Linked DNA regions of Homo sapiens: regions 1, 2, 4, 5 and 6 are each linked to region 3. Evidence: promoter capture Hi-C in 16 types of primary human blood cells and fetal thymus (Javierre and others, 2016). All regions are on one chromosome and are shown on one strand. Each heading gives the region's core, a stretch centred on a gene start or on the middle of the fragment in contact. The rest is flanking DNA. Distances are from core to core; before and after follow the strand shown. Region 1 has its middle 38 kb from the start of ZAP70. Region 2 holds the start of COX5B (cytochrome c oxidase subunit 5B). Region 3 holds the start of COA5 (cytochrome c oxidase assembly factor 5). Region 4 overlaps REV1 (REV1 DNA directed polymerase). Region 5 overlaps TMEM131 (transmembrane protein 131). Region 6 holds the start of ACTR1B (actin related protein 1B).

Region 1 (3,928 bases), core at 673-3,172, 860 kb before region 3:
TAATTTTTTGTATTTTTAGTAGAGACGGGGTTTCACCGTGTTAGCCAGGATGGTCTCGATCTCCTGACCTCGGGATCCGCCTGCCTCGGCCTCCCAAAGTGCTAGGATTGCAGGCATGAGGCACCGCGCCCGGCTGACACTTCCTATTTTTACAAAAGGCACAGACTAATAGCACGCATAGTGCGCTGTCTGTGTGGGAAAGGAGGGAGATGGGAGTGCTTTTCCCAAAAGGACGTTTATAGAGCAGGGACAAGGGAATGATGGCAATAGGTCTTTCTAGGCAGCAGCAAGCCCTGCTGGCTTTGGAGTTCCGGGTGGGCAATGACTGTCAGGGGTCAGGTCTGTGAGAGTTGCTAGGAGCATGCATTCTGCAGAAGCGGGAGGGGACTGACGGCAAAGGAATTAAGTTACAGAAGGATCCTGAATGCATGAAAATTTGCAGCCCCACATTGCCTTAACTGGAAAAGGAGGTGGTGCTTTGTGGGCATAGGAATCTGATGCAGCCTCCTCTCCCTGCTGCAAAATATCTGGCTGGGAGGAATGGTCCAAATCCAGTCCCTCTAAGAACCTTGTCCCTGGACATGCTGCCGCAGTTCTGCTGAGAGGCGGGGCTGAGGCAAACGGGAGCCCAGGCTGGCGGTGGACCCAGTGGTGAGGGTGGGAGGGATGAGGGCGTGGGAGGAGGGGCCCCAGGCAGTGGCAAGGAGCTCAGGAGGCTCCAGATTGGTGGCCTCATGCCCCCTGCCAAATGAGTTCCATCCCCATCAGGAAGTTGCCATTTCTAGGGGTTTAACACTGGGAAATGTCTTTGGAATACCACAGTAACAGACAATAGGAAGTGCTACCACTTATTTATTTGGCCTCATGTTTCACACCATCCTCCTGAGGATGTTTGTTTTGCATATAGGGAAACTGAGGCTCTGAGAGGGGCAGAGTGTGCCCAAGGGCCATGATCAGTAAATGGCAGAGCCAGGACTGGAACCCAGGCCACACTCATCCATGCCACTGCACTCATGTGTACACCCAAATGGTCAACGCCCTTCCCCGCAGTGCAGCAGCAACGCACCGCAGTTAAAGCAGCTGGGCTTGTTGCTCCCTGCAGCAAGGGGGACCCAAACAACAGTGAGCTGGGGTGTCTCCTAAGAGGGTGTCAGGAAGTAGCAATTGTAGGATGTGGGCCTTGGTTATTAGCTTATTTGGGGGGTGGGTCTATGGAGTCAGGGGTTTGCTCTGGAGTGGAGGCTGGCTCAAGAGTGTCTAATGAACGCAGTCTATAGTTACACCAGAGTTAACAGTTTTTTCCTGTCTGTTGTAAAGCGAGTTGTTGAATCGCATGATGAAAGAAATGGTGTGCAGTACCATCTAAAACTCTAGACAGGAGATACTAGCCAACCATTTACAGGTAATTACGAGAAACGCAAGGACTGTTAGTCCTCGTAACAGGTCTGCAAGACAAGGGCCTAGAGCGCCTCCAGGTAATGGGCGCATGTTCCAGAAGCCAGCTGGGTTGGCTTTAGAGGTCAAGGCTTTTTCTAATAGTCACAAACTGTCCTGTTCCCCTGTGGTGTTTTTCTAGGTATAAAAAAGGAGTATTTGTTATGGCATGACCTGTCCCTTTGCTGGCTAAGAGGAAAATAAAGCTTATATGACTGTCCTTGATAACTCTAAAGAATGGACTTAGATTAGTCGGTTGGACTTTCAGAGCAGAGTGGTCTCGTTTATGGCTTCAGCTAAAATTACCAACTAGTTTTGAACTCTCTCTCTAGTCGTTTTATTCCTTTGGTGGGAACTGGAGTTTGCAGAGTATGCATGAAGAGCAAATCAAGGATCGCTACTGGAAGGTTTTGGAATCATCTATGATAATTTTACGCTGGATTGCTGGGTATTCTTTCAAAGAATGGATTACTGGAGACGTGGGTGTTGTAAATATCTGAACATATCTAACCACTCTGAATATACATGAGTGTGTGGCAGACCAATATAAGCCTGACATGGGCTAATAAGATGTAGTGTCCCACTGAAGCACAGATCGTATGGGGAGCATATTATTATAATAGCAATAAATTTCGTGTCTTTGTGTGCCTTTTGTACAGAAGCTGTAGATCACGTAGAGGCGGGTGTGTTTTGGATATACTGTATAGTTCATATTTATGTTGAGATAAAGCTGGAAATAAAATGTAATCATGTAGAATCTAAGATGGGATGAAGCTTCAAACTGTATACAGTGGCATGTTATGAATTCATAAGAAGCAACATGGGACCTAGAGGTGGTTGATCGTATAATGCTAATGGTAATTTCTTAAGATGTAGAATTTTGGAGGTTTCTGAGAGGTATGCTATTTTTAAAAAAATTCCATTAGTTCTGTTTTTCTAGAGGACTGGAGAAAACAAGGACAGTGAAATCTCTGGATTAAAGGCACAACTTCAGTGTTTCTTAATAACAGTATGTCTTAGTCCCTTTGTGTTGCTGTAAAGGAACACCTGAGGCTGAGTAATGTGTGAAGAGGTTTATTTGGCTCAGGGTTCTGCAGGCTGTAGAGGCAGCAGCATTGGCTTCTGCTGAGGGCCTTGGGCTGGGTGCACTCCTGGTGGAGGTGAAGGAGAGCCCCGTGCAGACCACACGGTGAGAAAGGGAGGAAGAGGGAGGTGGGGGAAGGTGCCAAGCTCTTTTCAACAACTAGTTCTTGTGGGCACTAAGGGTGAGCACTTAGTCCCATGAGAATGGCACCAAGCCATTCACGAGGGCTCCATCCCCTCCACCAAGCCCCACCTTCCACACTGGGGATCATATTTCAACAAGAGACTCAGCAGGGCCAAACAAACCACAGCATTGGTCTGGAAAAAGGAGTATCTCTGTCATTAGAAGTAAGTGGGGATTTTCCAGGTTGGAAAACAAAATCAAGCACTTTTTGTCACTCTGGCAGGGAAATTTTCAATCCACAGTGAATATAAACAAACAATAACCAGAATGTATTTATAATCCACGGCAGAAGGCATTTGTATGGAGTCTACTTGGAGGGGTCTGAAGGGCCTTCAAGCTCTCCAGTTCCTGCTCACGTCTACATTTAAATGTTTTATCAGGATTTCATTCACAGGGGGATGTTTTGTAACCATTATTGGCAATACCTCTAAAATTACCTGGCTTAATTAATATTGTTGCCAATTTATTTTTACAGCTATCTAATTATGGGTAACATCATGAAGAATTTTTGTTAGATTCCACTATCACCTTTTTTCATGACATCAGCTGGCCCTCCTAAGATGTAAAAGGCATCAGAACTTTCCCCATTTTCTTTTTTCAAACCAGGGGCTTGTTCTGACACTAATAGCAGCCTCTGAATTTCTCAAGACCGGTGAGATCACAGGAGTGTTTCTATAGGCTGATCTTGTTTCTTTAGCACAGTGGTCAGCCCAAACACTGCCATTAGGATCTGAGTCTTTGTATTTGAATGACCTTTTACTATTACTATAGCTAAGATAGCAAAGCATCTAAAATGTCTTTGTTATCCAACTTCTACAGGCATTTGTCAGGGTTAGAAGCCTGTTCCTAAAGCATTCAAATTTTGTGGACTAGCCCCAATCACATTTATTTATACTATCAATATAAACATTTGTTCTTTTATTTTTTCCAACCTGCCCATGTGGGAGCAAATGTTTTAGTCATCTGTGATGACCTAATTTCTGGGATTGGTCTATATTTTAAGGGTGAATTTAACTCTGTGGTAGCATTTTGAAATAGGAACAAGTAAAATTAGGACAAGGCTACTCAAAGGCATCTCTAACAAAATTACTAAAGCGTATTTTTTACATTGAGAGTTAATAATTTGGTGACAAAAAGGAATCTTTCTTCAAATTTAGCATAACTAAATCACTTTACTTGTGTGAAAATAATTCAAAATCAAAGCTGTTGAAATTTTATTTAGAGCCT
Region 2 (3,959 bases), core at 946-3,445, 960 kb before region 3:
ACTCTGTCATAGGGAAAGGAAAAAAAGGATAAGCACCAAACTGCTAGCTTGTTCCTTATATATCTGTGCTGTTCAACTTATAATGTACATTTATTTTGACAACTGAAAATTATCCTATAAAAATAAGTTTATTGTGCTGGCAAAGACAATGATAGAGCAGAGGTGGCAGACTGTTCCCCAAGCCAACTGTTTCCAAAGGAGACCTGAGGGACTGGGTGTGAGTTGACAGTGGTGGGAGCTGGAAGCAGCAAGGGATGCGGGGACATCTGGGGAGCCTGGACCTGACCTTGGAGCTCACTCACACAATCTAAATAATCCCAGAGTGAGGCTGAGGTTTTCCTGAGTTGGATGAGGGCCTGCGAAAATTTCCTATTATTAGGCAAGCCTACTATGAGAGTGAGAAGCCTAAACTCAATTTCCATTTTATAGCCTGGAGTAAACCACTTCTGGTCAGGCAGCAGGGAATCATAACATATCAGAGCTGAATACCTCACTGGTTTGCTGAGGGGCAAGTTAGTAGGTGTTCCTCAGAAAGGATTTTGTGGTCAATTAAGACAGGGAAACTCTGGCTTAAACTGCAGGTAAATTAAATAAGAGGTCTTTACTGCAAGCCTAATCAGAGCCTTTATTATGCTAGTGTCCATCTCCAAAAGGGTGGTCATCAAATGCAGGCCCTCCCTGTCTTGACCAAGTCCTTTTTCTTGAGATCATGTCTTGAGACTTGGATGCCATGCAATACACTTTGGGAAATACTAACCTAGTTGAACGACAGTTTTACTGATGTAGAAATGGCGGCCCAAAGGATAAAAAGTAGCTGAACTAGCTGGTGGGGCTACTTTCCAGACCAATGCTTTTTTCTCCTGCCTAAGACCTTAACCACAGTTGCAAATTAACTACAGATCCTCAGAATTTTCGCCCAATTCAACTTGGAGGGGTTGCAGTGGAGGTGAGGGAGAAGGGAGTAACAGTGAAGCCATTCAAAGCAAAAACCACCTTTAAAGAAATTTTGGCCTTAGAATACAGGGTTTTTTTTTTTTTTTTTTTAATTGGTGGAGGGGGCACCCAGGAAGACCAGACGTGCTCCTGTGAAGCAACGCTCCACCACGTCCTTTTGAAAATACCGTAGCCTGCATGAGACAGGCGGGAGCACCTAAGCCTTCAACTCTCCCCATGTTGCCTCCAATTGACCTCACTGGGCCAGGAAAAGCCCTATAAACTGGTTTTGTATACTCTATCCAAGTAGTAAATTTACTAAAATTACTGGATCCTACTATATACCAGACCTCTGCAAGGCATTGAAGATTCAATGATGAGCATTAATTCCCACTCTAAGGGGATTTTTCTATCTGGTAGGGAAACTCAGATACCGCATGCAGCTAGCCTGTCACAGGGCTATACTGACTAAAGCTCACCCTAAGAAATTTGCACATCTTAGCCTATGGGCAACGGGAAGCCATGGACGGAATATGTTTTCCGTTTCAAACAAGGAACTCCAGTCACAGCAGGCTCTAACTCCATTTCCTATTATCAACTCCCCTTCCTGCTCCTCCTCCCTTAGTAGCCTCGAAAAAGAGTGGCCACTTCCTTCACATCACCAGGGCCTTGGTCCTGGTAGGGGGTCCCGCCCCCGGCCCTGTCCTCCTCCCCAGGCCGGGACCTCCGCGCCTCCCACACACAGTACAACTCTAACACGAAACTGGGCCAGGACTGCAGGTAGGTCCCGTCCAATGCGACACGCTCGCGACGGCCCACGCACTGCCAGAACCAGCCCTGCCACTAACCAGCCTAGTAAGGAACGCAGTGATCTTTAGGAGCCCACTTCTAAATTCAAATCATTTGGGGTTCAGTAAGTCTCTTCACAGACGGGGACCTAATAGCTTCCATTAGCAGCCTCCACGTTTGCTGAACACGACTACGGGGCCAGACCCACAGGAACTCCAATGTGGTTCAGCCGCTCAACTCCAGGGACCAAAAAGACTTTCCCACCTCCCAGCGTTATTAAAGGCAACCCCGCCCCCAAGCCTCAGCCACTACGCGGTGCAGAAAGAGGCAGAGCTGGGCATGCGCAATTTCCGCCCCCGCCACAGTCTTGGGAGTGGGCGGGCTCGAGGGCTGGGAGGAAGCCGAAAGCTGACCGAGAGGAGAAAGAAGCCCGCCCCCGGAAGTCCCTCCTGTCTCTGCAGCTTGTTCCCGGAAGTTTTGCTGCTAGTCGCGGACGCAATGGCTTCAAGGTTACTTCGCGGAGCTGGAACGCTGGCCGCGCAGGCCCTGAGGGCTCGCGGCCCCAGTGGCGCGGCCGCGATGCGCTCCATGGCATCTGGAGGTACTCGGGTCTCCGGGCGTGCCAGGGACCAGAGTGTTGCCCTCCCAGGGTGGTCCCAGGGCGGCAAAGCGGCGCGGCTCGTGCAGCTTCTCGAGGTCCCAGTGGCCGCTTTACGGTCCCCAGTGCCTCAGGCTCTGCAGGCATCTCCCTGTAATTCTGGACCGCTGCTCCTGCCGCTCCCCGAACTCACTCCGCTGCGAAAGTATCCTAAACGGAGGTGCCGGGTGACCTTGGGAGGGACCGGGGCTGCCACCGGGATGGGGAGGGGTCCGGCCTCCCTTCAAACCTGCGCCCACCTCAAGCAGAGTGGGTTCTACATGCTTTTAGACAAATGTCGACAAATTTGCCTCGGTGGTTGGAGAAAGAAAAGCTCATAGGCCGGGCGCGGTGGCTCACAACTGTAATCCCAGCACTTTGGGAGGCCGAGGCGGACAGATCCCCTGAGGTCAGGAGCTCAAGACCAGCCTGGCCAACATGGTAAAACCCCGTTTCTACTAAAAATACAAAAATTAGCCGGGCGTGGTGGCGCGCGCCTGTAGTCCCAGCTACTCGGGAGGCTGAGGCAGGAGAATCGCTTAAACCCGGGAGGCGGAGGTTCCCGTGAGCCAACATCGCGCCATTGCACTCCAGCCTGGGCAACAAGAGCAAAACTCCGTCTCAAAAAAGAAAAAAAAAGCTCCCCCGAGTGCTGCCGCTTGTGTGGATGGGTACTTGGTGGTTCTTAGGGGACCATGGATATGAGTAGCCTTTAGGAGCTTGTGAGCCCGCTAAAACTTATACAGAAGTTTCGGGGCACCATTTTCCTTGATCATTTCTGTTTGTAGTTTTTCTATCAGTCATTTCAGTCAGCGTCATAATTCACGTTATCTTCCTTTAGGTGGTGTTCCCACTGATGAAGAGCAGGCGACTGGGTTGGAGAGGGAGATCATGCTGGCTGCAAAGAAGGGACTGGTAAGGAGAAACTCCCTTCTGTGTCTTCTGTGTAACTTATGGCCTTGGATGTGTTCATAGTGGTCTCCTCTCTGGGAGTATTTGATACAGGAAACTTGGCTTGTAGGAACAGTCCCCTGAGCTTCTGGAAGGTAGGGCTTATTTGGCCTAATGGTTCAATTCTTGTTTTTTTTGTTTTGTTTTGTTTTTTGTTTTTTCTTCAGGACCCATACAATGTACTGGCCCCAAAGGGAGCTTCAGGCACCAGGGAAGACCCTAATTTAGTCCCCTCCATCTCCAACAAGAGAATAGTAGGCTGCATCTGTAAGTACCTCACCTCTATTTTTTATCCACTTGCTTAATATATCCTACAATAGTGTGTAAGCTGCCTCAAATCTTCAGTGTGTGAGTGCATGTTGGTAAGTTTGTCTAAGGGTCTTGACACTCTCAAGCCTCATTATGCCTGATAGTTCATCCTTACTGGAAAGAAGCGCAGCACAGCGGTAAGACTGGCTCACTGGGAGTGCGGCATGAAGGAGTACCCACCCAGCAAATATTTATTGTTATACTGCTTCTATGCCAGGCATCATTTTAGACACTAGGGATACATACCAGAACGGACCCTGCTTTGCGTTCTACATAGGCAAGGGAATTGTTAGAATTTACAGTGACCTTGATACAAGGTCAGTTTACTCATAGGTGAACT
Region 3 (3,767 bases), core at 338-2,837:
TTTCAGATTTTCCCCACAACCACAACAGTTCCCACTCCTTTACTTGATAAACTACTACTCAACTTTTAAGACTCAGCTCAAATGTCATCTCAGAAGATTCCAAATTCTGAAGCAAAATCAGACGCTCTCCCTTGGGCTAACGCATTTTTCTCCTCAAGATCTAGTCATTAAACACATGTTTAATAAATGCTTACAGTCTTATGGCAGGAATTTAGACCCTTAGATGTCTATTTCTCCCATGACACCAAGCTTACATGGGTAGTGACTGTTACTGATTCATCTTCGTTATCACCAGTGTCAGGTACCATGCCTGCCACTTAAGAGGCATTTACCAGGAGCTGGCTGAACGGCAGCACCAGTGAGTAAGGGGCAGAAGGGACACAGCCCTGGACAGGGGAGCCTGAAAACAACGGTACTTCAGTTTCCTCATTTATATAAGGAAGTTGGGCGAGATAATCTCTTAAATTTATAATAACTCAAGTTTTACTAGACATTGGGAGGCGAGAATGGCTGACTGCTAAAATCAGTGAACCAAACAAATTGTGACTCGGTAGAAACACTGGTACAGTCTTACAGTGGATGTCCATTTGGGGGTAATCTTTTCTCTGAAATAACAGCAACTTTCTGAAACTACATCCCCCAATGCAAAGACAATTGCACACAATTGAATGCCCTCTCGTCGGGCCTCTGCAATTGGAAAAGGCACTTGTGCTTTACTTGAGCTCTAATCCAGAACTCAGGTCCACTGTGAACCTCACTACATGTTTCAGTGCATTCCAAGAGGGTGCTGAGGAGACCTGTGTCTGTAGCCGGGGAGTGAAGGAAGAGTGTAGGGGAAGCAAGATACGAAATCGTGAAAATATGGAGTTGCCTTATTTTTACAACTTAACATCCAAGAATGCAGAGAACTGTAACTCAGAAACAAATTCACATCAACACAAGTCAAACTGAGCACACATTGTCACAACTGAACAGGCAGGAGACACTACTGGCCAGGGCAGTGTACCAGGTTTACGCAACTCTCTGGAATCATTAATTCTACAGATTATCATTTCTAGGCAGGCAAGAAACCTGGCTTATTCTCCTTTATGTCTCCAAAGCCTAGTAGAGTGCTAGCATTCAATAAAGGCTTCGTGAACTGAAATGGGTTAACCTTTACAAAAACCCGACAGGGTGCGTTTATCGTTATCTCCGATTTAACCCCACAGGGAACTGGGGCTCCGACAGCTCAGTGGATCTGCGCACGTTCAGTGAGCCCGAGCTGTGACCTACGCCCGGGATGGTTAACTCCAACCGCCGCCGCGGGCGACCCGCTGCCCTCCGCCGAGCCAGGCCTGCCTGGGACAGGGGTCGTCACCACCGGGAGCGCCCGGCCGCGCTACCTGGACCACACAGTCCGACTGCAGCAGACACGCGCCCAGGTCCTCCTTCAGGCCCGCGCACGCGCCGCCCTGCGGCTTGTCCTCATAATACTTAGGCATGACGGCGCTTCCCCTCCGATGCGGACGCGACTTTCTCCCACCGCAACACTTGCAACCGGGTCGGGAGCGAGCGAGGCCCCAGTCTCAGGGGACCGGAAGCCAGCGGCAACAACTTCCGGCGGGCCGCGGCGGTAGGGCCGAGGACTACGGGGGCCGAGAGGTGGCGCGTCCGCGGCGGAAGTCGGTTCCCGTGACGCGGCGCGCCCCAAGGGCCGGCTCCGTTGAGGGAAGGGAAGCCCGCCCGGTGGCGGCTGGGGTCGGCTGCTGGGAGGAGGTGGTGGGCTGGTTCGGACGTGGGTCGAGGCTGTAGCAGGACTCCAGGTGAGGCCTGAGGACCACTCTGCCCTCCCGCGGCCCGGGCTCGCGCCGGGGGCCATTTAATCCCGACAGCTTGCGGCCTGACGTCGCTGCGGCCTGGCAGTGACCATGTCGGCGTCCGGCCCCTCGGCCGGCGATAGAGTTGCGGCTAAAATGAAAGGACGCCCAGTTACATTTGCATCGTAGATAAAGAAAGAGCATTTAGTATAAGCATGTCCGAAATGTTGCGTGGGATGTAGGCATACTAAAACCTTATTCGTGGCCTGTCTGAAATCCAAATGGAGCTGGGTATTCTGTGTTTTTATTTGCTAAATCTGGCAGCCGTACCCGCGGCCCCGGGCAGGGAGGGAGCAGCTGGGCTCGGCCAGACCCTGCCGGCGTCTGGGGGGCCTGCGAAGTGGAGGGGAGACGGGCAGCCGGGCAGTGGCCGGCGTTCCCCGGAGCTCGGACCGGTTGGATTGGACTCCGACGCTACCGCTCCCTCTGCTGAACTATTCCGGATGTAAAACACTAGGGATCGGAGTTTTTCTTGGTTTTTTAATCTCATTCTAGTGACCGAGAAGCTTGCTGGCAGTGCGCTGATGGATCTGTGTGAATAGGCCATTTATTTGACCTCTTCAGTAACACTGTTCTAACCGGCTGAAACTGCTTTCTTAGGCATTTTCTTAAAAGCTTGGTGGTTAAGAGCACGGAATTTCGAGTCAGATTTCCAATCTTGGCTCTATCACTATCCTCGGAGTCATGGGGCAGTCACATCATCCCTGTCTCTGTAATGGTAGCTGCCCCTGGATAAGTGTTATTAGGTGATTCAGAAGGGTGGGCTGTTGCCCTTGCCTGAGGTTGCAGTCTGCGGTTCCCAAGCCCCAAGACCCGCCTCAGAACTAACTGCATTTGCTTTTGACTCCTGGCCTTTCTCTAGGGTTGGGAAGAACATGGAAAGTGACCTCCCTGCCAAATAACTCAGAAGAGGAGTGTCGGTAGCCAAATGTTTCTTCAGAATACGTGTAAAAGAAATGTTTTTCTTCCATCTAGGAAGATGTTACCGAGTACTTCAGTGAATTCCTTAGTGCAGGGGAACGGAGTCTTGAATTCCAGGGATGCGGCAAGACACACAGCCGGAGCGAAACGCTACAAATATCTGAGAAGGCTTTTCCGCTTTCGGCAAATGGACTTTGAATTTGCTGCCTGGCAGATGCTCTACCTGTTCACATCCCCACAGAGAGTTTACAGAAATTTTCATTATCGAAAACAGACGAAGGACCAGTGGGCCAGAGATGACCCTGCTTTCTTGGTCCTGTTAAGTATCTGGCTCTGTGGTAAGTGTGTTTATCTGAGATAGAATTGAACGCTGAGTGTTTCTGATTAGATTTTTTGTTATAAATGTGTTGTGGGTCAGAATCTGGAAATATTGGAAACTATTTCTCCTTTTTACTGAAGCCTCAAAAAATCTCACAGGAAAGAAAGTTGTAGTCTTGGTTCTACAGGTCCCAAGCAGATGCCAGAGTAAACTGTTACCCTAGGACATTGAAAAGCAGGGGACAAGATTCACTCCATATCTTTTTAAGTACTTGAATCGGTACCCAAATGTCAGCTGACTGTGAATAGGAATATGAAACTGGAAATTGCATTTCACAGGCAAATCCACAGTGAGAATTGTAAAGGTATTGATGGGAACCTGAGAAACTGAAGTTCTCCAATTCCATAATGCAAGGGTCTCATTTACCTGTAGGGTGTTGAAGTGGGTAAGATATTGAAGTTTATAGGGTGTTTTGCACCTTAACTGGACTTAAACTATGTTAGTGCCTTCTCTACACTGGCGTTCTAAATACTGAGGCCACCGTGGTGAATCAGCCTGGCAAGGGCCCACCTCAGGAAACTTCAACTCTCTCAGTGGCCACGCTGTGTCCCAAGGTAGTGTTCACACATCTTGGGAGTTTTGTTTAAAGACCTGTCTCTCCCACTAGCCTG
Region 4 (3,537 bases), core at 1,032-3,531, 870 kb after region 3:
TTTTAGTGTTCCTTTAATTTTTAACATTCAAATTTAATTTATTTACATTTCACATTACTAGTAATACCTTTCACTTCTGAAGTATCCTTAGTTTTCCAAGACCCCTTTACATCTACCATTTATCTTTACAACTCATCCATAGAGTGAGTCAGCCAAGTCCTATTTATTTTGCACACAATAGTTGACTTCTAGGGTAGAGAAGCTAAAAAGTTCTGTAAGGCTGCACTGCTGGCTTGTGGTACAAAATCATACTCATCTTCTACAAAATTATGTTCCCAAATCTTCAATGGAAAAAATAATAATGGTATCAATATGAACTGCTAAAAAGTTAAGAATACTCCTATTGATCTGAAGTAACCTAACACAATTCAACAAAACAGATGCTTCTTCACCAGGTAATCTAGCAACAGTCTGGATCATAATAGAGCCATATATGTAACAAAACTAAGGAAGAAAACAGGTCCTACAATTAAGCTCCATCTAGACCCCAACTAGTCCATATTGATAAGCAGAAGTCGGGAGCGATGGCTCACGCCTGTAATTCCAGCACTTTGGGAGGCTGAGGCAGGCGAATCACATGAGATCAGAAGTTTGAGACCAGCCTGACCAACATGGTGAAACCCTGTCTCTATTAAAAAGAAAAAAATCAGCCGAGCATGGTAGCAGGAACCTGTAATCCCAGCTACTTGGGGGACTGAGGCACGACAATCACTTGAACGCGGTAGGCAGAGGTTGCAATGAGCCGAGATTGTGCCACTACACTCCAGCCTGGGCAACAGAGTGAGACTCCGTTTCAAAAAAGAAAAAAAAAAAAGAAGTAGAGATTCAAAGACAGCATCAACTTTGTTGCTAACCGGTTCTCTGAACTTAAGCAAGTCATAATCAGTCATATTTTAGTTCCTCCGTATGTGGAAAGAGTTGGACCTGTTTGAAATGCTTGTTCCCCGGTGCCATAAAGAAACAGCACTTGAACATAAATTTAATTTATTTAGTAAGGCCATTTTTATTTCCTGCAGAAAAGGTACACTCGCCAGCAGTTTTGCCATGAGAGTACAAGGAACAAAGGAGACAGGGTCATTTATAACCTGATGCGTCCATCATACTGCTGTGTCTGGTTTCCATTGGCTGGAACGGGACCTCACATTCTGTATTTGTTCCGATTGGCTAGCAACTTAGAACTTTTTAAAAGAGGCAAAGGTGGAGGAGAACAAAGGAAGGAGGAAGTAACTTGTGGAATGCTGAGAAGGATAAAAACACTTTTAAATAAGGAAGAGAACAGGATATGACCTAATGCTTGCTTGGACCAGTATAAGCATGCCAGGGCAAATATTTAGGAGCACAGGTCTTTGAATAAATTTTGCTTCTAAGAGAAGTTACTATTTATTTCTAATCAGATGGGGAGGAAAGTCTTTGAAGAGGTACATCTACTTTTACTTTTTACAGACCTGACAAATTCTAGAGTCTTTTGCAATTTTTTAAATGTACATGATTCTGCGCTTGAACCCAGGAGGCAGAGATTGCAGTGAGCCGAGATTGAGCCACTGTACTACAGCTTGGGTGACAAAGCAACACTCTGTCTCAAAAAAAAAATAAATAGGCCAGGCACAGTGGCTCACGCCTGTACTCCCAGCACTTTGGGAGGCCGAGGTGGGTGGATAACAAGGTCAGGAGTTCAAGACCAGCCTGGTCAACATGGTAAAACCCCATCTCTACTAAAAAATACAAAAATTAGTCAGGCGTGGTGGTGGGAGCCTATAATCCCAGCTACTCCGGAGGCTGAGGCAGAGAACTGCTTGAACCTAAGAGGCGGAGGTTGCAGCAAGCTGAGATCATGCCACTGCACTCCAGCCTGGGTGACAGAGTGAGACTTCGTCTCAAAAAAATAAATAAATGAAAATAAACAAATGTGTATGATTCTACACATCTAGTTTTAAAAACGCTTTCAACAAACACATACATATTATGCAACTTTACGTAACTTTTTCTATGCTTGCCAAAAAACAACAAGATGTACCTATCCACAGATGTGGCTGTGCAGTAAGAATCCTAACCCAAACAGATGTTTGGCCTTTGCCCTTGGTTCCTGGGAGGTAATCCTTTCTTTTCCCCCCCTTCACATGGTCCAAGATGAGACTGGGAGGTAACCTCTAAGCCCTTAGAACGTCCACCTTATGGGAGCAGTGACTCACGCCTGTAATCCCAACACTTTAGGAGGCTGAGGCGGGCAGATCACAAGGTTAGGAGTTCGAGACCAGCCTGGCCAACATGGTGAAACCCCATCTCTATTAAAAATACAAAAATTAGCCGGGCATGGTGGCACACGCCGGTAATCCCAGCTACTCAGGAAGCTGAGGCAGGAGAATTGCTTGAACCCGGGAGGCGGAGGTTGCAGTGAGCCCAGATTGCGCCATTGCACTCCAGGCTGGGTGACAGAGCAAGAATCTGTCAATAATAATAATAATAATAATAATAATGTCCACCCTGTTAAGTGCTTTTGTTTACCTGGGGGCTTTGAGCCACTCCAGATAGTTTTGCACTGTGATTTAAGGTGAAGGGCTTTGAGCCATGTATTATCAACCTCCTGAAGGGCTGAAAACTAAAGGTCAACCATGCCAACAGTCAATCATATCTAAGTGACCAAGTCCCAGTACAAATGCTGGACACCAAGGCTTGGGTGAGCTTCCCTGATAGGCAATCTCCATGAGTAGTGTCACACATCAGTGCCAGAAGTTGGCACCGTCCATAACTTCGCTGGCAGAGGATAACTGGAAGTTTCGTAAGTGGACTCTTCTGTGTGCCCCATGCACCTCTTCCCTTGGCTGATTTTATTCTGTATCTTTTCACTGTAATAAATCCAACCATAAGTAAAAGCCCTTTCAGGAGTTCTTTGAACCCTTCTAGCCAATTATTTAACCTAAGGATGGTGTGGATCCCCAAACTTGCAGTTGATCTCATAAGTGAGGGTGGTCTTGGGACCCCAACTCCACGATGGCAAAACGGCACTGTCCTCCAGTATTCATTCTTCTTTCTTACTTTTAGTAATGGAACACCTCTCCCGCCCCTCTTAGCAGGAGGCAGAGTGGGCAACCAGAGACTACATTTCCCACGCTCCTCTCAAAATCGGGGGTGGCCATGTGACTAAGTTCTGGCCAAGGAGGTATGAGCAGAGTGATGTGTACAAAAATATGAACCATATTCCTAAAGAAAGCTGTTTACTTCTTTTTCTGGGATGCAGTTGTGAGGTAACCCAGCTTCAACCATGGGAATAAGGACAATACCCTATGGAAGGGCTAAGCACACAGAGAACTGTGGAACCCCTAAAACACTGAGGTGCTCACCTACTACGGACTGCCTATCTACCTCTGGACTATTACAGGAGAAAGAAAAACTTAAAAATTGTTTGTTCCATTGTATTCTGAAGTCCCTGTTACAGCAGCTTAGCCTGTACCCTAATGCATAAGTACATCTGAGCATTTTAATATGATTTTGATTCAATATCTATATAAATTAAAAATAGACAAACAATAAGATGTACTG
Region 5 (3,571 bases), core at 836-3,335, 840 kb before region 3:
CCAAATAACTAGAATTTTAGGTAGGATAACAAACTGAAGTGAAAAATCCACTGTTTATGGGCCAGATGATGAATGCTACATTATAAAATCTTTTGTATCTCTTCTACTTCTGACTGACAGGGTTATTTAAAAAACCCATCTTCTAAAAAAACCCCAAAGGCTCCCATAGTAGACACCAGCCCTCTGGTGGTGGAGGTGGTGTGGGTGTGATCTATTTTTAAGTGTGCGTGGGTAGCTATTTATACAAAACTAAATTCTGTGCCACTGTAAAAGTAATTGGTTTTTAAGAAGAAAGGTGCCAGACAACTCCTGTTATTTTTGCTGATTCATACTTTCCTAAATTAAGCCAGATGATCTCTATCAAGAATCCTTTTTTAAGGCTTCTGAATAAAATGGGTAACGGCCAACTTAATTGAAGCGATTCATTTTTTTGAGACAGAGTCTCACTCTGTCACCCAGGCTGGAGTGCAGTGGCACGATCTTGGCTCACTGTAACCTCTGCCTCCCAGGCTCAAGCAATTCTCCTGCCTCAGCCTCCTGAGTAGCTGGGATTACAGGTGTGTGCCACCATGCTTGGTTAATTTTTGTATTTTTAACAGAGATGGGGTTTCACGATGTTGGTGAGGCTGGTCTCGAAGTCCTGACCTCCGGTGATCTGCCGTCCTTGGCCTCCCAAAGTGCTGGGATTACAGTGGGATTACAGGTGTGAGCCACCGTGCCCAGACTGAAGTGATTCTTTTTAAAAAGGAAAAACAGGTGGTTCAGATGCCAGGCTTTATTTATTTATTTACTGACAGGGTCTCAGTCTGTTGCTCAGGCTAGAGTGCAGTGGTGCAATCACGGCTCTCTGCAGTCTCTAACTCCTGGGCTCAACTCCTGAGTCTCTAACTCCTGGGCTCTATGCAGTCTCTAACTCCTGCCTCAGCCTCCCTAGTAGTTGGGACTACAGGTGTGTGCCATCACACCTGGCTAATTTAAAAGAAAAACTTTTTGTAAGATAAGGTCTTGCTATATTTTCCAGGCTGATCTTGAACTCCTGGGCTCAAGCAATCCTCCTGCCTTGACCTCCCAAAGTGCTGGGATTATAGATGTGAGCTACCACACCTGGCTTATTTTTATAATATATTTTCCTCCATTTTTTAATAATAATGTTTTTCTTTTTCTTAATATTCTGAGATTTCGTATTCTTTTTATTTTTGCTTTTCACAACGTTACACCTGACTCAAGCCTGGCCTATTTTTATTCCTGTAATACACAGTACACATTTCTGTCTGGGGAGGAGAGAGGCAGAGCTGAGGACACAGCTAGGGACATGACCAGCTGTGGAGCAGGGTTTTCTGAGTGCTGACAGGTCTGGGGCTGGCGTGTGCAGTGTGGTGTTCACAGCCCTTGGGCCTGAGTTGAGAGTGTTATTTAAGCAGATTTTTACAGATAATATGATTAATCTACTTCTTTTGCTTATTTTAGATTATTACATTTATGTAAACATATACTGTTGATAAACAAATAGAAAAACAAAAGGATCAGTGAATACTCAGGGTCCTAAACCAGGGATGCCCTGGGCCCTTCCTGGTTCTGCAGAAACCTTCAGTGCCTGAGATCTGATTCCCATTCCTTGGCATCTCTGCCATAGACTACAGTTTTCCGGAGGTCTGCAGGCCCATTTCTATGTTGCCACAGCTGGAAAACACGGTTAGATCAGATTTCTGTTGCTGCAGCCCCACCCTCCTATTTCCTAGCAAGTGATTTTTTTGAGGTCAACTCTTGGGAGTGTGGATGGATGGGGCTGAGCCACTCCTCTGGCTTTATCACCTCTCACAAAGCTTCCGAAAGACAGCAATGATATATGCCTTATTAATGACATATCTTATTAAAAGATGTGTACCTGTCCTTCAGACATGTGGGGTTATATATTAACACACTAAAAGGTGACAGGAATTTCAGGAATCACTAAAGCTAGTACTGGCTGTGATTCTGAGTGACAGTGTTTGACATTTATTATCAGAATGCAGTGGAGTCACAGAATGGCTCTGTTCAGAAAGCCAACCTTCTCCGGTTATTAAAAAAACCAGTCTTTATTTGATTAAATGATTGATGAACTAATAAATTCTGACTCAATACTTTCATCCTCGAGTTCAGAAAAACAAGAGATCAGTGAGTTTAAAGAGATCAGATAAAGGAGGATAGAAGAAAGGTTGCATATAGATTTCTCCAGTTACAAAAGACAGTTTCAAGCACACGGCTTGATTTGTGTTCTGGTAATGATTTATCTTTTAACTACATATTGAGAGAGCACCGGTTATTGCTATAACTGCCCCTTGACTAGGCGGTTCAGGACTGACCACTCTAAGCTTTTTGGTTTACAAGAGAACTAAAAACCCTTGCAAAGGTAATGACACTCAAGCGACGTCTTTGACTAACTTTTCAAATGCAAATTTGCTGATGGTCAACTTGTAAAAAAAATCAGAATACAATGTAAGTCAGTGGAACAGGGATGGGGGTTAGGATTAGTGTGTTCTATCTGCTTAACAATACTAAGCTCAGGCCTGAGGGCTAATCAACAGGGCCAATTTGGTGACAGTCACCTATGGAATGGTACCTCTAAGATAATTCTTAGATGCACTGGTTTTAAAATTTATCATCATAGGAATTACTGCATGTCTGTCTACCTCACAAGATTTCTGCAAATGTAAAAATGAGGATTTTCATTATTTGGACTTATTAGCCTCATTTACTTTAAAATATCTGATCACTCACCTAAGCCTGAAAAAGGCCAAGAAGAAGAATCTCTAGCTAGTAGCCCAGTGTTATTCCTGTCCTGGGTGCCAGGATATTGGTGTCTCAGGTGGATTTCTCTCAGGAGAGATCCAAGTATGTGAACCTCCTCTTCAGAAGAGGTGGTCTCCTTTTCTCTCTCCCCTTCAAATGATCAACCACCTGATACCACTCTGCTTGACGTTCCTTCTACCTGGGCCAGACTGCTCTCAACAAATTGTGGGACCTGGTCACTTGAACTAACAATTGCCACAAAAGAGTAAATTTTAGGTACAAATACTTCATTACTAAGCACCACCATATACTGTATTATTTCATAAATTCAGGGACAAGGTTAAATTTTACTGCAGTTATCACTAATTTCTTACTAGCTTTTGGGTTCTATAGAACAGGACTGGCCCTGCCTGAAGCCATATAATCTAGGGACAGAGTCTAGGTTAGTGGTGTTTTTGCAAAACTCAAGTATGATTCCCAGGATCAGAGTAAGAATAGACCTTCCACAAATCTATGGCCCACACTTATGATGACAGACAAGCCATGTCTTCCTTTTAAATTTACACCTAATTTATTCGACTTCCTCTGTCACTTTCTACTGATCACAACCCACAAGCGGGTAGACAGCAGCTCCCGTGCTGATGACAGTTCTATACAATGAACCAGGAAAGGTATTACTGATGCACCAACACTAAAATTATCAGGTAGATGCTGAGCCAAGGTTTAATGAAAATGTGAAGTAACTTCAGTTAATAACCCAACAGTTCAACTCACTCATCTCCCTGGGGAAACAGCCTGCACA
Region 6 (3,512 bases), core at 683-3,182, 940 kb before region 3:
TTGTATCCCCCTGCTCTGGCAACATTTGGCAATGTCTGGCAGCTGGGGAGAGGGGACATGCAGTGGGGGATGCTATTGGCATCTAGTGGGCAGAGGCCAAGGATGCTGCTCAACATCCTACGATGCACAGGCGAGCCTGCACTACCAACAAGGAGCTAGCCCAGAATGTCAATAATATAGAGATAGAGAAACCACGAAGGGCACCTTCCTCTGCACAACTAATGGTTGGCTCCAGCAGGATTCCATAGCACATGCTACTCCCAAAAGCTAGAAGAAACCCCTCTGTGTGGGTCTTTTTTTTTTTTTTTCAACAGCTTCCTTCTCCCCCAAGAACCCAGAAGGCATGGAACATGGACGACCTACAGGGCCTGCTGGAGAAGACCAATGGGTGCATGGGATGACCGGCAGCTTCCCTCAAGTGGCTTCCCAGAGACTACTAGGAGAACTTGGTCCTATCGCTGCCCCCACCTGGAAGCTGGACTTAAGGATCCCCCAAAGAACGGGGCAATTAGAAACCTCCCACCCAGCGAAGGGATAAGCTTCTCAACTCAGTCCCACCACTCTTCATCGCAACCCTCTGAGTCTGCAGCAGAAACAAACATCTCCAAGTTACAGAGGAGGGGATGGAATCCCCAAGGGGCCGAGCGGTAGCCCTTTTAACTTATAAGCCTGTTGATTAGCCTATACGAGTTATTTGCACGTCAAGAAAGGAAGTAGCCTGCTCCTTCCTGCAGCGTCCTGCTGGTGTGACAGCACGTCCCCAAGCTCAGTGCTAACCTCCTTATTAAACATCCCCTGCTGTGACTCAGGGAACCCACATGGGTACTCTAAAACAGTCATTCAGGGACCCCACGGGGTCATGTGGGAGGGAGACAGATCCCAGAAAGAGCACAAGTGAGTCATTACCAAAAACTCCAAGGCCCGCACACCGGACGCACATACCCAGCTAGGGGCAGACTCAAAGATCCCAGCCCTTATCTTCTCCCCATATCAGAGCTCGGAAGCCAGAAATCTTCCTAAGGCAGGTGAAAGCAAGCCGAGCCCCACTGCTGAAGGACAAAGCCACAGGAAGCCTGATGACATCTTTCCTCTGAGGCTTCCAAACGATCACCCCAAATTGCTTGCTGATACTGGGAAGAGTGGCCATGAACTCTCCATTGCTCTGCTGGCTGTGGAATGTTTGCTCAGCACAGGAAGCATTTAAGGAGAAAGTCAAAGTAGCCAAAAGGCAAACCAGATGGTGGTGGACATGTGGGTGACAGAGCATCCTGCATTTGTTGCCTCGGGGTGCAGCCCCAAAGATAAAGCCAGCAGTGTGCAAATGACAAATGCTACCCCACCTCCGCCAGGCAGCCAGAGCCAGGGCCGAAGGACGCGGAAAGGAACTGGTGTGGAAACCTGCCCAGGAACCGCACTCTCAACTGAGAAGAGTCCGGGGCGCGTCCCCGCCCGGCCGCCCGGCTGTCACTCAAGCTCTCCTGAACTTCCCCGCCCGACTCGGGGAGGGGTCGGGGAAGAGGCTCTGCGACGCGGGCGAGGGGGCTCGCCCCATGGCCGGCCTTACAAGGCCAAGAGGGCGCGCGCCCCCGGGGCGAAGCCAGCGGCCCGGCGGGGGCGACGGCCACGCAGTGAGCGGAGGACGCGCCGAGGCGGGCGGGGGTCTCTCCCTGCGCCGCCGCGTGCGCCCCCGGGGGCGGGGCGCCCGCCCTCCCCCTGGCTGCCGGGCCTCACGTTGTCGATGACCACAGGCTGGTTGGCGATGATGTCGTAGGACTCCATGGCCGGGCCGCGCCGGCCCTGCCCAGCAGGCGGGCTGCAGGAGGCACCGGATGGGCGGGCGGGCGGGAGGACCGGGACGGCGGCGGCTCCCGACGCGGCGCCGCTGCCCTCCCTCCCCGAGCCTGCAGCCTACGCGAGCCCCGCGGGGCTTTCTGGAGGGCGGGCCCGGCGGCCAATCATCGCTCCCACCTGGCCCGATTGACAGCAGGTGCCCGGGGCTGGCTGCGCGAAGGGGGCGGGGCCTCCGGAGGCTGGCCAGCCAATTGAGGTCGTCCGGAAAAAAGTGGTCGCGGCGTTGCCAAGGTAGGCTGCGCAGTGTCTGGGATGATGTCATGGCTCCGTCTTAAAGGGGACGCGGGCGGCAGAAAGTGGAGCTGGGCTGGTGTGCGCGCGGCCGGAGTCTGTGGAGCTGGAAATTCACCGGTCCAGGAAGACGTCTTTCCCGCGTCCCAGCACCGGTCCAGAAAGACGTCTTTCCCGCGTCCCAGCACCTCGGGCCACGCTCCTTCGTGAGAGCGCCCTCTCCAAGGAGGCCGGCCCTGGATATTTCACCCAAAATATTTATTTTTTCTTTTTTTCTAGGTAAGGTGTCTTGCTCTGTCGCTCAGGCTGGAAATCTTGGGCTCAAGCGATCCTCCCGCGCCAGCCAGTAGGGGGGACTACAGGCGCGCACCATATTTATTTATTTTTACTGAAATAGTCTCCGTAGAGACTGTTAAAAATTGCCGATGTCGACTATATTGCAAGTCGTCACGGTGGGGTATTGCGAAAAGTTTTCAATTAGCAATAATCGCGCTTCGGATAAACCTCATTGGCCACCATACGGCCACCGCGCAACGCTAGCTAATTAAAAAAAATTTTTTTTGTAGAGAAGGGATCTCGCTATGTTCCCCGGGCTAGCCTCGAACTCCTGAGCTTAAGCGATCCTCCCGCTTAGTCTTTCCAAAGCGTTGGGATTACAGGCGTCAGCTATTGCGCACGGCCCCATAATATTTCCTCGTTGAGCACTGAAGAAAAGATCCTTTTCCTTATAAAAATTACAGTTTCGTGGTATTTTGGTCCTGGCATTTATTGAGCACCTGCTCTGTGCCTGCGGAGCACTTCTGCCCACTTTACATAAGTTATATTAAATCCTTGCAACAATATCAGGTAGTTGTATTATTACTCCCATTTTTCAGTCAGGGTCTTCACACTTTGGTAACCTGCCCAAGATTATTGGGTGTGGAATTGGCATGCAGGTAGCCCCCTGCGGCACTGGAGTCAGCTGCTTCAAGAGTGCAGGATAGTTGAGTTCTACATTTGTTTACCAAACGGATCCATAGTTATTTCCCTGTATATATACCTCTCCCAATGGGTTGTGAGCATAAAATTTGTAAAATTGAAGCGGGTGTGCAGAAATCACAAGTGTACATGTACATTTCAATGAATGATTAAAATGTGGACACACTTGCATAACCACCGAGTTCAAGAAACAATATTGTTGCTGGAAAAGGGGTCCCGATCCAGACCCCAAGGGAGGGTTATTGGATCTTGCCCAGAAGAAATTCAAGGCAAGTTGCAGAGTGCAGTGAGAAGCGATTGTTTATTGAAAGCTACTCAGTTACAGAGTAGGCCATCCTCAGAAAGCAAGAGGGGGAACACACCCTCTTTATATTAAACTCTTCTTATAGAGGGGTCTTATCTATGTAAAAACTAAGCTATGTCTACATGAGGGTGGGCTGACAGCATAACAA

The links. The method cuts DNA at HindIII sites, captures the fragments that hold promoters and counts their contacts. A CHiCAGO score of 5 or more calls a contact.
Region 1: a fragment that was not itself captured here is called in contact with the fragment with the promoter of COA5 in region 3 in 1 of 17 cell types (monocytes); the score reaches 7.8 in monocytes.
Region 2: the fragment with the promoter of COX5B here is called in contact with the fragment with the promoter of COA5 in region 3 in 2 of 17 cell types (neutrophils and megakaryocytes); the score reaches 6.4 in neutrophils.
Region 4: a fragment that was not itself captured here is called in contact with the fragment with the promoter of COA5 in region 3 in 1 of 17 cell types (activated CD4 T cells); the score reaches 6.2 in activated CD4 T cells.
Region 5: a fragment that was not itself captured here is called in contact with the fragment with the promoter of COA5 in region 3 in 1 of 17 cell types (monocytes); the score reaches 5.6 in monocytes.
Region 6: a contact is called between the fragment with the promoter of ACTR1B here and the fragment with the promoter of COA5 in region 3, in 1 of 17 cell types (monocytes). The highest score is 9.4, in monocytes.

Annotation. Positions count from the first base shown.
Region 1 is chr2:97,749,174-97,753,101 of GRCh38, forward strand. It overlaps a transcript of ZAP70 not described here. Among named protein-coding and RNA genes, the nearest start is that of ZAP70, 38 kb to the left of the region's middle. The HindIII fragment of the contact is 568 bases long and covers 1,639-2,206 here.
Region 2 is chr2:97,643,867-97,647,825 of GRCh38, forward strand. COX5B (cytochrome c oxidase subunit 5B) reads left to right here and starts at 2,196. Exons shown (of 4, transcript NM_001862.3): 1 at 2,196-2,323; 2 at 3,201-3,274; 3 at 3,478-3,577. The coding sequence starts at 2,221. RefSeq lists enhancers at 1,154-2,088, 1,891-1,940, 2,121-2,300. The HindIII fragment of the contact is 14,381 bases long and covers 1-3,959 here.
Region 3 is chr2:98,606,925-98,610,691 of GRCh38, forward strand. COA5 (cytochrome c oxidase assembly factor 5) reads right to left here and starts at 1,588. Exons shown (of 3, transcript NM_001008215.3): 1 at 1,383-1,588. The coding sequence starts at 1,481. UNC50 (unc-50 inner nuclear membrane RNA binding protein) reads left to right here and starts at 1,665. Exons shown (of 6, transcript NM_014044.7): 1 at 1,665-1,802; 2 at 2,832-3,115. The coding sequence starts at 2,836. RefSeq lists an enhancer at 740-1,729 and a silencer at 1,793-1,892. The HindIII fragment of the contact is 2,113 bases long and covers 248-2,360 here.
Region 4 is chr2:99,474,107-99,477,643 of GRCh38, forward strand. All of the region lies in intron 1 of REV1 (REV1 DNA directed polymerase), which reads right to left. Among named protein-coding and RNA genes, the nearest start is that of REV1, 14 kb to the right of the region's middle. RefSeq lists an enhancer at 1,491-2,154. The HindIII fragment of the contact is 9,790 bases long and covers 1-3,537 here.
Region 5 is chr2:97,768,177-97,771,747 of GRCh38, forward strand. All of the region lies in intron 33 of TMEM131 (transmembrane protein 131), which reads right to left. Among named protein-coding and RNA genes, the nearest start is that of ZAP70, 56 kb to the left of the region's middle. RefSeq lists enhancers at 1,938-2,451, 2,452-2,964. The HindIII fragment of the contact is 528 bases long and covers 1,822-2,349 here.
Region 6 is chr2:97,662,112-97,665,623 of GRCh38, forward strand. ACTR1B (actin related protein 1B) reads right to left here and starts at 1,933. Exons shown (of 11, transcript NM_005735.4): 1 at 1,732-1,933. The coding sequence starts at 1,779. LOC124900516 (U4 spliceosomal RNA) reads right to left here and starts at 2,620; the gene lies at 2,480-2,620. It also overlaps a transcript of C2orf92 not described here and the pseudogene RNU4-8P. RefSeq lists enhancers at 395-1,036, 1,002-1,071, 2,112-2,451 and silencers at 1,432-1,491, 1,572-2,031. The HindIII fragment of the contact is 7,381 bases long and covers 538-3,512 here.